2 separate regions of the Homo sapiens genome follow, and region 1 is linked to region 2. Evidence: promoter capture Hi-C in 16 types of primary human blood cells and fetal thymus (Javierre and others, 2016). All regions are on one chromosome and are shown on one strand. Each heading gives the region's core, a stretch centred on a gene start or on the middle of the fragment in contact. The rest is flanking DNA. Distances are from core to core; before and after follow the strand shown. Region 1 holds the start of H3C6 (H3 clustered histone 6). Region 2 holds the start of TRI-AAT5-2 (tRNA-Ile (anticodon AAT) 5-2).

The links. Contacts are between HindIII fragments. The CHiCAGO score rates a contact against its expected background, and 5 or more counts as called.
Region 1: the fragment with the promoter of H3C6 here is called in contact with a fragment that was not itself captured in region 2 in 2 of 17 cell types (fetal thymus and total B cells); the score reaches 9.0 in fetal thymus.

The regions. Positions count from the first base shown.
Region 1 is chr6:26,223,314-26,229,441 of GRCh38, forward strand. It overlaps H3C6 (H3 clustered histone 6), which reads left to right and starts at 1,822. Exons shown (of 1, transcript NM_003532.3): 1 at 1,822-2,303. The coding sequence starts at 1,842. The coding sequence ends at 2,252. RefSeq lists enhancers at 1,832-2,448, 2,449-3,064. The HindIII fragment of the contact is 11,157 bases long and covers 1-6,128 here.
Region 2 is chr6:27,174,381-27,180,720 of GRCh38, forward strand. TRI-AAT5-2 (tRNA-Ile (anticodon AAT) 5-2) reads right to left here and starts at 2,908; the gene lies at 2,835-2,908. RefSeq lists a cis regulatory region at 2,747-3,824, a silencer at 2,814-2,963 and enhancers at 3,166-3,365, 3,556-3,655, 4,006-4,065. The HindIII fragment of the contact is 232 bases long and covers 3,202-3,433 here.

The DNA.
Region 1 (6,128 bases), core at 572-3,071, 950 kb before region 2:
AGAAGATGAGATGTAGGGAGTGTGGAGAGGAAAAGCACAGGGGGTGCATAGCTCTCATTAACAAACGGCCCAGCCCACAAATACGTAATCATATTATACAAAAGGATTTCAGTTCTTCCCTTGCTTCCTATGAAACAATTTTGCCAACATACCTAACCGTTTTACCGTGATTTAAAGTGTACAGAATTTTCTTTTTCTGAAAAGGAGAGAAGCAAGGGACTCATATATATTTCAGATGTGAGATTGAAACGCACGACAATGTGTAATTTCAGTCAAGACTTGCCCACGAGTCCTAAGATAATTCAAATTTGCAAAATAGACACTAACTTGAAAGGTGCAATTGTATCAATCCTGTGGTTAGCAGAATTTTGATGAATGCCCTAAAATAGGGCAGGTTTAACAGAATTCAGGGAATGAGCAGGAATGCACAAAGCATCCTTTGTCTCCTCTCCACTCCAGCTTGCAGACATCCGCGGGCATTTGCGGGCAGTGATAAATTTGGTTTAGCCGTTTCCCCTCCCTGGAGGACGGGGGCTCCAGCATATTCATGATGTCAATCGCCTTGGACTACATGCCAGCGTCATTGCGAACCTGCTACACTTTACAAAATAGCTTTCCAATGAGAAAGAAAACCTACTGGGAAAGAAAAACAAAAAGAAACTAGACCTTGCAACGGGCACGCACGCGCACTATCCCTCTCTGAAATATTTATAGTACGCTTACACAAACGCGAACTTGTAAATCAAAACTCTGCCTGAACCAAAGTAGCCAATAGATTAAAAGTATGTAAATTAGGAATTCCCAAACTGCTCTTTTTATTGGCTAGGAAAAGAACACCTTACAGGGAATCCGATAGGTTAATTCACAATAGTGTTAGGCTGTAATGTCATTCTTTAAGAATCTTTTCCAGTAAACATTTGTTACTTTTTCAAAGTAATTGGGAGCTGTTGAGTGTGGAAGCGAAAACCAAGTTAAGAAGTCCTGTTATTTGGGTGAGTCCAGTTCCTATAAAAGTTCTGTTGGATGTGTCTTAAATTGTTCGGTGCACCTCAGCTCTCTCCCGCAGGGATCCGGAGAAACTGCGCCATTGTTGTCTTACAGAGAAACAACCTTCTAACACTCTCTTCGCCGCCATCTTTTTCAAGATTTTAAATTGAAAATACTTTTTTTGACGGCTCTTGCCATTATGTCTGGACGTTTTAATTTCAACAAAACGAAATAATAGTGTTAAGTTCTTTGAGTCAAACCCGATATTACAGAGGTAGGGATTCCAGGATATTAGAATTTTACTATAACACAAATGAAACACAAAGTTCCTTATGCTTAACAGTGTATCTTAGAAAACCTTGTTTGAGTGAATTAGCCTTGTACTCTATAATGAAACGAGGAATCATTGAGAGATACTTAGGCAACGGATTTTAAATGAGTGAATAAGGAAGGGAAAAACTTCAGGAAAATGCAGAAAAAAGCAGCGGAGATTTTGGAAAAAAAATTCTAAAGCACTTTCTAACGCAAACACATTCGATTTTTTATAGCTAAACAGGATAACAGATCAGTCTATTAAGTTAAATGATCAATGTCTTTGCAGGTCATGGTCTACGTGAAACATCAAAGAAACCTGTAACGGAAAACGACTTGTTTGAAAGAGCCAGTTCTCTATCCAAATTTACCAATCAGAATCTTGCACTGAAAAAATAAACCAATCGTGAATCTCTACGGCCACTTCCGGAATTTAGCAACCGATCACTAACAGGGATCGTCCACAATCCAATCAGAGTGATTCTGTTCCTATATAGAGGGGCAAACCAATCTTCCTAACTCATTTACTTTGCAGATGAACTATGGCGCGTACTAAGCAGACGGCTCGTAAATCCACAGGCGGTAAAGCACCGCGCAAACAGCTGGCCACTAAGGCAGCTCGCAAGAGCGCTCCGGCCACGGGCGGCGTGAAGAAGCCCCATCGCTACCGCCCTGGCACCGTGGCTCTGCGCGAGATCCGTCGCTACCAGAAGTCTACCGAGCTTCTAATCCGGAAGCTGCCGTTTCAGCGCCTGGTGCGAGAAATAGCTCAGGACTTCAAGACCGACCTGCGCTTCCAGAGTTCCGCGGTGATGGCGCTGCAGGAGGCCTGCGAGGCCTACTTGGTGGGGCTTTTCGAGGACACCAACCTGTGCGCTATTCATGCCAAACGCGTGACCATCATGCCTAAAGACATCCAGCTTGCCCGCCGCATTCGTGGGGAGAGGGCGTGAATTGTTTTGAGTACAAACCTTAAATCCAAAGGCTCTTCTCAGAGCCAACCACTTTGTCCGTGAAAAGGGCTGTAATCCTTTGAGACGCATTAGACCACTAAACTGCACTGATCCAAATAGACATTTGAAATAGTGGCATTCAGTTCCCTCGATGCTTCATTTAAATTTCCAAATTTAAGCGCTCCCTCAGGTTTTCGCCTAGGGCTGGGCCTCCCTACGCTGTTCTCCATTGGTTTAGCTGGCTTTGTTTTGCTGTTCAGGCCCTCTGCTGCTTTCTTGTACATTGTTCTCGTTTTCTAAACTCCTGGCCACTTAATTGTACCCTGCTTAACCCATCCTCTTGTTTTCTGGCTCAACGCTCTTTCATGTGGTGGCCTGCATTTTAGGTCTTAACTGCATAGGCTTTCAACGCCTTGGTTTTGCCTTTCCTTGATGTTTATTTGACCTTGCCCGAGGGGCCAGCGCTTTTGATCTGCATCAGGCTGCCTTACTCCACTAGTGTTTTGAGACCCAGCTACTTGCCGGCGACGGTCGGTGCCTTGGGTGCGGTCAACGTTACTCTCTGTGCGCCTGATACTGGTCTAAGGCTAAGGTTATTAGCTGGAACACCTAGACCCGTGGCACTAACACACAGCTCTTGCAGACTTGACAGCCTTGCATAGGTTCTAAACTGCAGGAGTCAAAGCAACGAAGGTGCAGATGGGTGTGTCTCAAACCTGAGTGCGAAAGGAAAATGCAGAAATCATGAGCCTTTTCAACTTTCCAGTTGATATCTTTTGTTTGCTTTTTTCTTTTCTTATTTATTTATTTATTTATTTATTTATTTATTTATTTATTTATTTTGAGACGGAGTTTCGCCCTTGTTGCCCAGGCTGGAGTGCATTGGCGCGATCTCGGCTCACCGCAACCTCCGCCTCCCGGGTTCAAGCGATTCTCCTGCCTCAGCCTTCCGAGTAGCTGGGATTACAGGCATGAGCCACCTCGCCCGGCCTTCCGGCTGATATCTTAAAAGAACTTTTCAACTTTAGTAAATACCCTGTCTTAATCAAATCTCATTAAAAGTACCCCATATTTATCAACAAAACATGAAAATCCTTGGACGGCTTCAAAGTTCTTACAGAAAATATTCTGCCTTTCCTTTCCATACAAAGGCACAGCTTCGAAACTGGTAGGTGAAGGGAAGGAAAATAAGGAATTCTGTTACGAAATCATACAGGCTGTTATTTGGAAATACAGAAGGGTGTATGTACTATATGGGATACTGCATGCTATTTGGAAGAATTTTGTTTATTTAAACATTTCAGCAAATTCCTCAGTTTTGATATGGGGTGCAGTATTTTTAACTCATTGAGAAATTTCTACTAACTTTTTTGAATGTGCTCTTTTCCCACTAGTTGCACTAAGGAAAGAGGTTAGTCATGTGGTAAAATTAATAGTGACAAAGCTGTAAATAGCTCTGCAGGCCAAGGTAGCCATAGTAAGAAGTCCTGGAGATTTATGGAAGAAATTTTTGTTCATGGAAGCCTGTCAGACATGAAGATGTGGGTCTTGTGAATTGGAGATTCAGTGCGTGAGGAAAACAGCCTAACTATCCATAATTAAGGTAACTACTGTCAGATATTTGTAACATAGTGAACATCCTATTATGCTAGATAGAAGCATTCTCTATTTGAATGTTGTTTCCTGTATCCTGTACTTTCTTTAAGATTCTAGCTCAACAAGTTTTAACCTGTATTTCTCTTACAGCTACTGGAATTCAGTACGTGAGGACTTGGACTTGGTGGGCACAGAATGCATCTTTTTATATCATTAAATCCACCAGAACATCTAGCATGGTCATTTGCCTAAAACAAAGCCTCTGGAAATTTAGTCAAGTTGAGATGTAAAATAAAAGATTACTGAACAGAATTTAACATTGAGTGCATTCCTATTTACAAAAATAAAAGATTAGATAAAGTTTATATAATTTTAATATATAGTTTTTCTAAATAGGAAAAATCCACACTTATTGAGTGGCTGCAATGGGCCAGAAGTCATGCAGTATTTTATGAAGCCTCCAAAAATGTAAGTTCAATAGTTATCTATTATCAAAAACAAATTTAAAAACTGAAACTAAGAAAATTTCAGATAGTGCTGGAGCCAAAACTTTCCCCACTAGGCATTACTGTTTTAAATAAACAGCCTCAGCAGAATCCTCATCAGTTACTCCTGAGGGCTTTATCACCTGGAAGAGCTACTAACATGTTTAAATTTTTCATACACAATAAAATAAATGGATGTTTTAAAATTTACAGGGTCTTAGGCCAGGCAGGGTGGCTCATGCCTGTAATCCCAGCACTTTGGGAGGCCAAGCCAGGCAGATCACCTAAAATCAGGAGTTCAAGACCAGCTTGGCCAATATGGATAAACCCCGTCTCTACTAAAAAAATACAAAAATTAGCCGGGCATGGTGGCACTTGCCTGTAATCCCAGCTACTTGGGATGCTGAGGCAAGGAGAATCACTTAAACCTAGGAGGCAGAGGCTGCAGTGAACTGAGACTATGCCACTCCACTCTAGGCTGGGTGACAAAGCAACATTCCATCTTAAAAAAATAATAACACCAGCCTGGCCAACATGGTGAAACACCATCTCTACTAAAAATACAAAAATTAGCTGGGCATGGTGGCAGACACCTGTAATCCCAGCTACTCAGGAGGCTGAGGCAGAAGAATCTTTGAACCTAGGAGGCAGAGCTGGCAGTGAGCTGAGATTGCACCACTGCACTGTAGCCTGGGTGACAGGGAGAGACTCCATCTCAAATAACAATACTAATAATAAGAAAATGAACTTTACAGGGTCTTATATGATTGTGAAGTTCTATTATATTATAATTAGTACTGCAAATTGCACAGAAATGTAACTGATGTACATACAGGAAAATATGACATTAACACTGACAAATTTTAGCCTTTCTGCATACTATTCAAATAGTAGCCTTGATTTAACCACACATACACAGGCAACTTTTTTCAAAGGCATACACTGAGATAGTAGTAAATAATACCAGATGTCTTTAAAATAAATTGTGATTTTATTTGGGGAAGATCTCAAATCTGACCCCTGTAAGATCATACTTTCTATGTACTTGTTGGTACACTATATAGTATATATCCATTTCACAGTTACATAGTTGCCTGCAAGTACTTATAATTAAAATAAAACAAGTATGTAATCTCTGAATAACCAATAGCTTCTTCATATTATAAAGATAATAGCTAAAACTCAAGACAATTCAGAAATCCCATTTTATTATTTCTCCATACTCACCCGACTCGACCTGCCAACAGTAAATATTGATATGTAACATTTTGGAGTTTGCAAGGCAACGGTGAAATTTTTTTTCTTTGTTTTTATTTTGTAGTTGCCCCCACTAAAAATTGTATATATATAAAATGGTATACTTCCGAAGATAAGGTAGTCTGTAAATCAGGCCATGGAAACAAGGGTCATGAAAGGGGCAGAGAAATTTGTTACTCTTCTTTTCCCACACAGGAAAACAGAAAATGAAACCACTGAATTTGATGAGTATCTGACAATAATGTAACCCAACTGATGGAATTTTTTAATTCAGACACACACACACACACACACACACGCCCCTAGAGTAGTGGAAAATAAGACAAATGCTCTAGAGTTCAGTTTAGTTAATGGGAGAAAATAATAGATGCATTAAAATTTTTCTATTGATAATAATTGTTCTCAACTATTAAATGTCATGAAAGCACATTTTCAGAGATAAGTTTATGTTTTGAATTAGAGGGATTTTTGCATGGAGATGTAATTTCAGAAGGAATTGGAAGTATTAGAAAGATTCTCACAGGGAATTGTTCCTGAA
Region 2 (6,340 bases), core at 2,068-4,567:
AGATCACACCACTGTACTCCAGACTGGGCGACAAGATGGAAACTCTGTCTCAAAAAAAAAAAAAAGTTTTATTTCTGTACAGCATATAATGCTGTTTGAAAGCATTACAAGTGTTGCTAAATTAGACATCTCCAAGGCATATCAAGTGAAAAAAGCAGAATGTAAAATAGTGTGTATAATGTTATATTTTACATAAGTAGAAAGGAAAAGTAAAATGTATTATGTATATTTGCACCTATTGCACAAAGAACACTAAGGAGAATACATAGGAAACTAAGAAGAATTGTCATATATAGGAGGTAGTGCTGAGAACTGAGCAGATGTGGGTTATGAGGAAGAAGAAAATCTTCACTTTTAGTTACTGTTTATGTGAATGTATTAACTTTTCATATATATGCATATCTATATCCTTAATTTTTAATGGATCCTAAGAAGCTCCCTCTTTTTTTTCATTCTTACTGTGTTGATGTTGAAAATTATTGTCCCTCATTTTGAAACCATATTTCATCTTACACTGCACTGAAGAGAGGAAGATAACCCAGGATAGATAGTAGGAAGTGTGGGTGGGTTAACAATTTCTTGTTTTGTTAGTTTTTCTATTACTTCCTTAACAAACTACCACAAATTTAATAGCTTAAAACAACATCCATTCATTATCACACAGTTCTGTGCGTTATAAGTCTGGCAGGGTGTCATCAAACTAATACCAAAACGTCAGCAGGCCCGGCCATGTTCCTCATGGAGGCTCTAGGGGAGAATTCGTTTTCAAACTCACTCAGGTTGTCAGTAGCATTCAGTTCCCTGCAGCTGTAGGACTGAGATAACGGTTTACAGGTTGTTCACAGTTTCTAGCAGATGCCTGAGTTCTCTGGCTGGTGGCTCCCTTCGTTTTCAAAGTCAGCAACTACCTGTGGAATCCTTCTTATACTTAAATCTGTATATATCATCTAATATACAATGGACTAAGTAGTAGGTACTCTTCATTAATTTATTCTAAAGAAATCTTTTTCAGTCGCTGACTTTGAGCTACTTACTGTTTTTGACGTGAAAAATCACAGCACTGAGCAAAACAGAGGGAGCCCCTTCCCTTTGTGATTCGCCCACTATGTCCTTGGCGCTGTTTTTGAGCCATTATTTACCTCATTATTTATCAATATTGTTAATGTCATTTTCATAGCAACCCATGTTTTAAAATAAGAGAAGGGTAAAAATATGTTGGGAGGATGAAGAGTGAAGGAAGAAATGTAAATGAGACACGTGCCAGGCACACGGGGACCCAGTGACCAGACTCCAAGAAAGCGCAGGACAGGGCTGGGCGCGGTGGCTCACGCCTGTAATCCCAGCACTTTGGGAGGCCGAGGCGGGCGGATCACGAGGTCAGGAGATCGAGACCATCCCGGCTAAAACGGTGAAACCCCGTCTCTACTAAAAATACAAAAAATTAGCCGGGCGTAGTGGCGGGCGCCTGTAGTCCCAGCTACTTGGGAGGCTGAGGCAGGAGAATGGCGTGAACCCGGGAGGCGGAGCTTGCAGTGAGCCGAGATTGCGCCACTGCACTCCAGCCTGGGCGACAGAGCGAGACTCCGTCTCAAAAAAAAAAAAAAAAAAGAAAAAGAAAAAAAGAAAAAAAAAAAGAAAGCGCAGGACAGAAAGAGCGAGGTGCTAAGACTTAGAGTGGACCCAGAGGCTCTGGCCCTCCTGTCTCCCACCACGCACTCCATTTTTGTCACATTTCAAACCTATCGCTTTTACGATATATGTTCAAAAATTGTTTAATGAACTGTAAATGGCTTGGTAAGGGCCGCATCGTAAATGGCTTGGTATGGGCCACATCGAGAACAGCTGTCAAATATAAGCCTAAGGCTAACCACGGATCTATTTTAACACTGAGCAGTTGTGGCTGAGTGTCTGGAGCTTGGCAGAAAGCAACGTCACAAGTCTGGCTTTTTCCCACGTAGACTGAACCCTCGCCCTCAAAGCTACAAACACAACAATTTAACCAACTGAGTGATCAACTAGGAGAAGAATCAATATGATCTCTTTCAAAAGCTTAAAATATGTCAAAATAGTATTATCTCAGAAAGTTTTTTTTTCCCAAAATAATACAAGACATTATCGAATTCTTATTTAACCCTTTTCTAAAATCACCCACCCACCTCATTGAATTTCCTTTAAAAAATCTTCATCCTGGCCGGGCGCGATGGCTCATGCCTGTAATCTCAGCACTTTGGGAGGCCAAGGCAGGCGGATCACCTGAGGTCAGGAGTTCAAGACTAGCCTGGCCAACATGGTGAAACTCCGTCTCTACTGAAAATACAAAAATTACCCAGGCATCGTGGCACACGCCTGTAATCCCAGCTACTTGGGAGGCTGAGGCAGAAGAATTGCTTAAACCTGGGAGGCGGAGGTTGCAGCGAGCCAAGATCGCGCCGCTGCACTCCAGCCTGGGCGTCAGAGCAAGACTCTGTCTCAAAAACAAACAAAACAAACAAATAAGAAAAACCTTTTCATCCTAACTCGTATATTATTTCTTCAAAAGAATAAAAAACGTGCAAATCTAATGCTTGTCTAGCTATTGCGACCACATTTACAAATGGATAGGCAGCGCTCCGGAGTTGGATGTAAGACGGTAGTATACAATCCAGGTGTGGTCGATTTAAGAAAAAAAAAAAAGAAAAAAGAAAAAAATTCCTGTCTAGCTAGTGCAACTACATTTATAAATGGATAGGCGAGGCTACGGAGTTCGATGTAAAACCGAAGTTTACAAGCGAGGTGTGGTCGGTGTAAAATAAAAACGAAAAAGAAGAAAAAAAAAAAAAACAAACCCACGGAAGTGGCCCGTACGGGGATCGAACCCGCGACCTTGGCGTTATTAGCACCACGCTCTAACCAACTGAGCTAACCGGCCTCCTTGGTGGGAGGGTCTTTTCTTATGTTTATTTAAATCATACCTGATCCATGCCCGCTGAATTTTTTTTTTTTTGTAATAGAAGCGTTACTTTCCCTTTTATTAATAAAATATATTTTTTTTTAAGAAAAGGAGAATTCCTCACTGTAGGCACAGGAAAACCATGCTGTTTCAGGGAAAACAATCTCAAACCACTGATTCTGACTGGAGAAAACTCAGATTCAACGACCCCAAGCAGGGCTTCCTTCCCCTCACCAGGTGAAGGACTCAGAACAAACCAAAAAGCAGCTCCAAGCTTGCGATCGCGGCCAGTTCCTCACGGAACCAACCGCAGAGCCGCCGCAGGTTCGCAGGATCGGAGGGTTCGGAGGACTCGGAGGGTGCGGATTCCTCTCTGCTCCTTGAGACCATTCCAGCCAGGTGGGCTCTTAGGCCTGGGAACCTGGGAAAGTGCACTGTCTCGCCTCCTGGCCTCGCGGTGGTTCCGCAGTCACCAGGACCCGAAATTCACAGCTGTGCGTCCTAAGCTTGCAGCTCCACAAACGATAAAATCAGACTTGGCCCTGCAGTGCCGGGCACCGGGCCCTTGGTGATGCTCGAGTGCCGGGCTGGCATCGGCGTAAATGAAAGGACCAGCGGGACGGCTCCTTTCAAGAGTCTCTGACTCCTTCCGTCCCGGGAAGACCAAGACACCCACATCTAAGACAAGGGAAGTCACCATTATCTACACCAATGATAAACGCCGGTATCTGGGAGGAACTGAGCCCAGGACCGGGTCAGGCAACTCAGAGTGTTGGGACAACTAAGTCCCTCTTCAAAGACTCAACTTTCTTGTCATAAGTTGCAAAAGTTGTACGTCAATCCTGCCTGCCCCCCGCCCCCCACCACACACATACACTCCTTTTTTTCGCAAATCCAGGGTTTACCCTATTTGCCAAAGTTTAAGTCTTAGCCAATCGGGATCAGCTTAGATTGTGCGGTCCAACCCCAGCCAATAGGGGAAGGACACAGAAACAGGAACTGCGTTAGGATTAAAAACTCCTTACCTCCTTTGTTTGGTGTGCTCTTGCAATTGTAACAGGCAAGGAGCACCCTTCTGCAGAAGTAAAGATGCCTTGCTGAGGAATTTTCTAAGTGAGGGTTTCTTTTGGCTACACCAAGCACTTGTTTCCAGTAAATCTTAGGGACTCGTCCGGGATCCCATTCTCCTTCGGGAGGGGCTAGCGATTATCTTTCATGGGGAGACGCGTCCCATTGCCTCGTGGTGGCCCCAGGAGCGGAGGATCGAGTCCCGCCCGAAGTGACGAATAAATCCGGACTCTCAGCAACGCGGACAGTAGGGAGGATCCTTAAGAATTCTGTGAGACCAGCTTGGTCAATACGGTGAAACTCCGTTTCTACTAAAAATACAAAAATTAACCGGGCGTGGTGGTGCGCGCCCTTAGTCCCAGCTACTTGGGAGGCTGAGGCAGGAAAATCACTTGAACCCGGGAGGCAGAAGTTGCAGTAAGCCGAGATCATGCCACTGCACTCCAGCCTAGGCAACAGAGCGAGACTCCGTCTCAAAAAAAAAAAAAAAAAGAATTCCATGGCGACCACAGGTAACTCTGTGCACAGACCAAGGTAAGAAACGTTGCTATTGGGGCGGCAAAGCCTTCCTTGGTGGTTGGGGTCTCTGGAGTTTTAAAGTGTGTGAGTGAGACATACCACTGGGCGCAAGGCGAGTGCGGAGTCCGGACTTGGTTCCGTGGTCACCTCATACGGCTTAGGGCGGTTTTCCAATCAGGGGATTCCACCTACCCGCCAATGCTAAGAGGTGCCTAAAATTCCCGCAAGGGAAGCAGCCAATAAGGACGAAGTGAGTGCTCACGAGAGTGCAAGAAACCTCCAGTGGAAAAAGGGGAGGTTGAGCCTCTAAGACACGGGAGTGCAAGAGATCTCTAATATTATATATTAAGCCTCACCAACCTCCAGGATGGGAAATAACCCCAAGTAAGACAGAGACTCTAAAAGGCCAAGCAGACAATAAAATTTCCCTCACAGTCCCCTAGGCCTAATGTTAAAATACTGGAAGGATAATGAAAGGACCAAACACAAGAAAAGACAGCAAATGATAAAGTACTGCTGTTTTATTTGGACTAAGGAACCCATCCTCAGACCTTCGGTCTTTTGGCCAAAGTTTGGGTGGGACGAGGACTGGATATGCCAACTCCTGATCCAGTATGTCAATGATAAAAGCCCAGTTTCTCAAGAGGAGATAGATTATGCTCTATGTTGGAGACAAGGACCTGTCCTTCTCTATCCCTTAAAGGACGAAAAAGCAAAGCCAAACTCAAAACCCCCCAAAGACGACCTAGCTAAGTCATATTCTATATCCAAAGATGCACGGGATCCTCTAGACCACCTTCCCCTGCCTACCTCTCCGCCCCGACTGAACAACAGCCCTTCCCGCACCTACCCCTCTGCCCCAAGCTAAAACTCCGTCCCTCCCCCATATAACCCTGCCCCATGGGCCTTGACACCACACACCCCCGTTGGACAGCCACTCGAACATGCCCCTCCCTTAGGAAAGCTCCAGTGGCAAATAGAACAATGCCAAAGGGATATTCAAAACTTTCCTTTCCTCTCTTCAAAGAAGTCTGCCCCAACCTTTTTTCCCTTGAGGGAAGTACCACTAGGAGGAGGGGATATTGGCTTCGTAAATGCCCCCCTTAGCTAGTGAAGAAGTTAGAAATCTAAAAAGGAGACTCAAACCACTGTTAGATGACCCTTTTGGAGTCTCAGATCAAATTGACCAATTTATGGGGCCACAACTGTATACCTGGGCTGAATTGATGTCTATTCTAGGTATTCTCTTCTTAGGAGAGGAAAGAACCATGATCTGCAAGGCTGCTATGATAGCCTGGGAGCGCAAGCACCCCCCTCGTCAGAATGTCCTTGCAGCAGAGCATAAATTCCCGGCCCAGGACCCTCAATGGGATAACAACAGTGCGGCTCACCGGGAAAACATGAGAGATAGGGATATGATAATTAAAGGGATTCAGGAATCAGTTCCTCCAACCCAAAACATTTCCCAAGCATTTAATGTACAGCAAGAGAAAGATGAAGGGCCCATGGAATTCTTAAACAGACTTAAGGAACAGATAAGAAAATACGCAGGTTTGGACATAGAGGACCCACTAGGACAAAGGATGTTAAAGCTCCACTTTGTCACCAATAGTTGGCCAGACACTATAAAGAAATTATAAAAGATAGAAAATTAGAAAGACTGTCCCATAGAGGAACTTTAAAGAGAGGTCCAAAAGGTATATGTACGGAGGGATGAGGAAAGGCAGAAGCAAAAGGCAAAAATTATGCTGTCCACCCTACAACAGGGAACTTTTCAACAGGCATCCCAGGGAAATAGAACTTGTAAACCTTCTGAGTACCAGG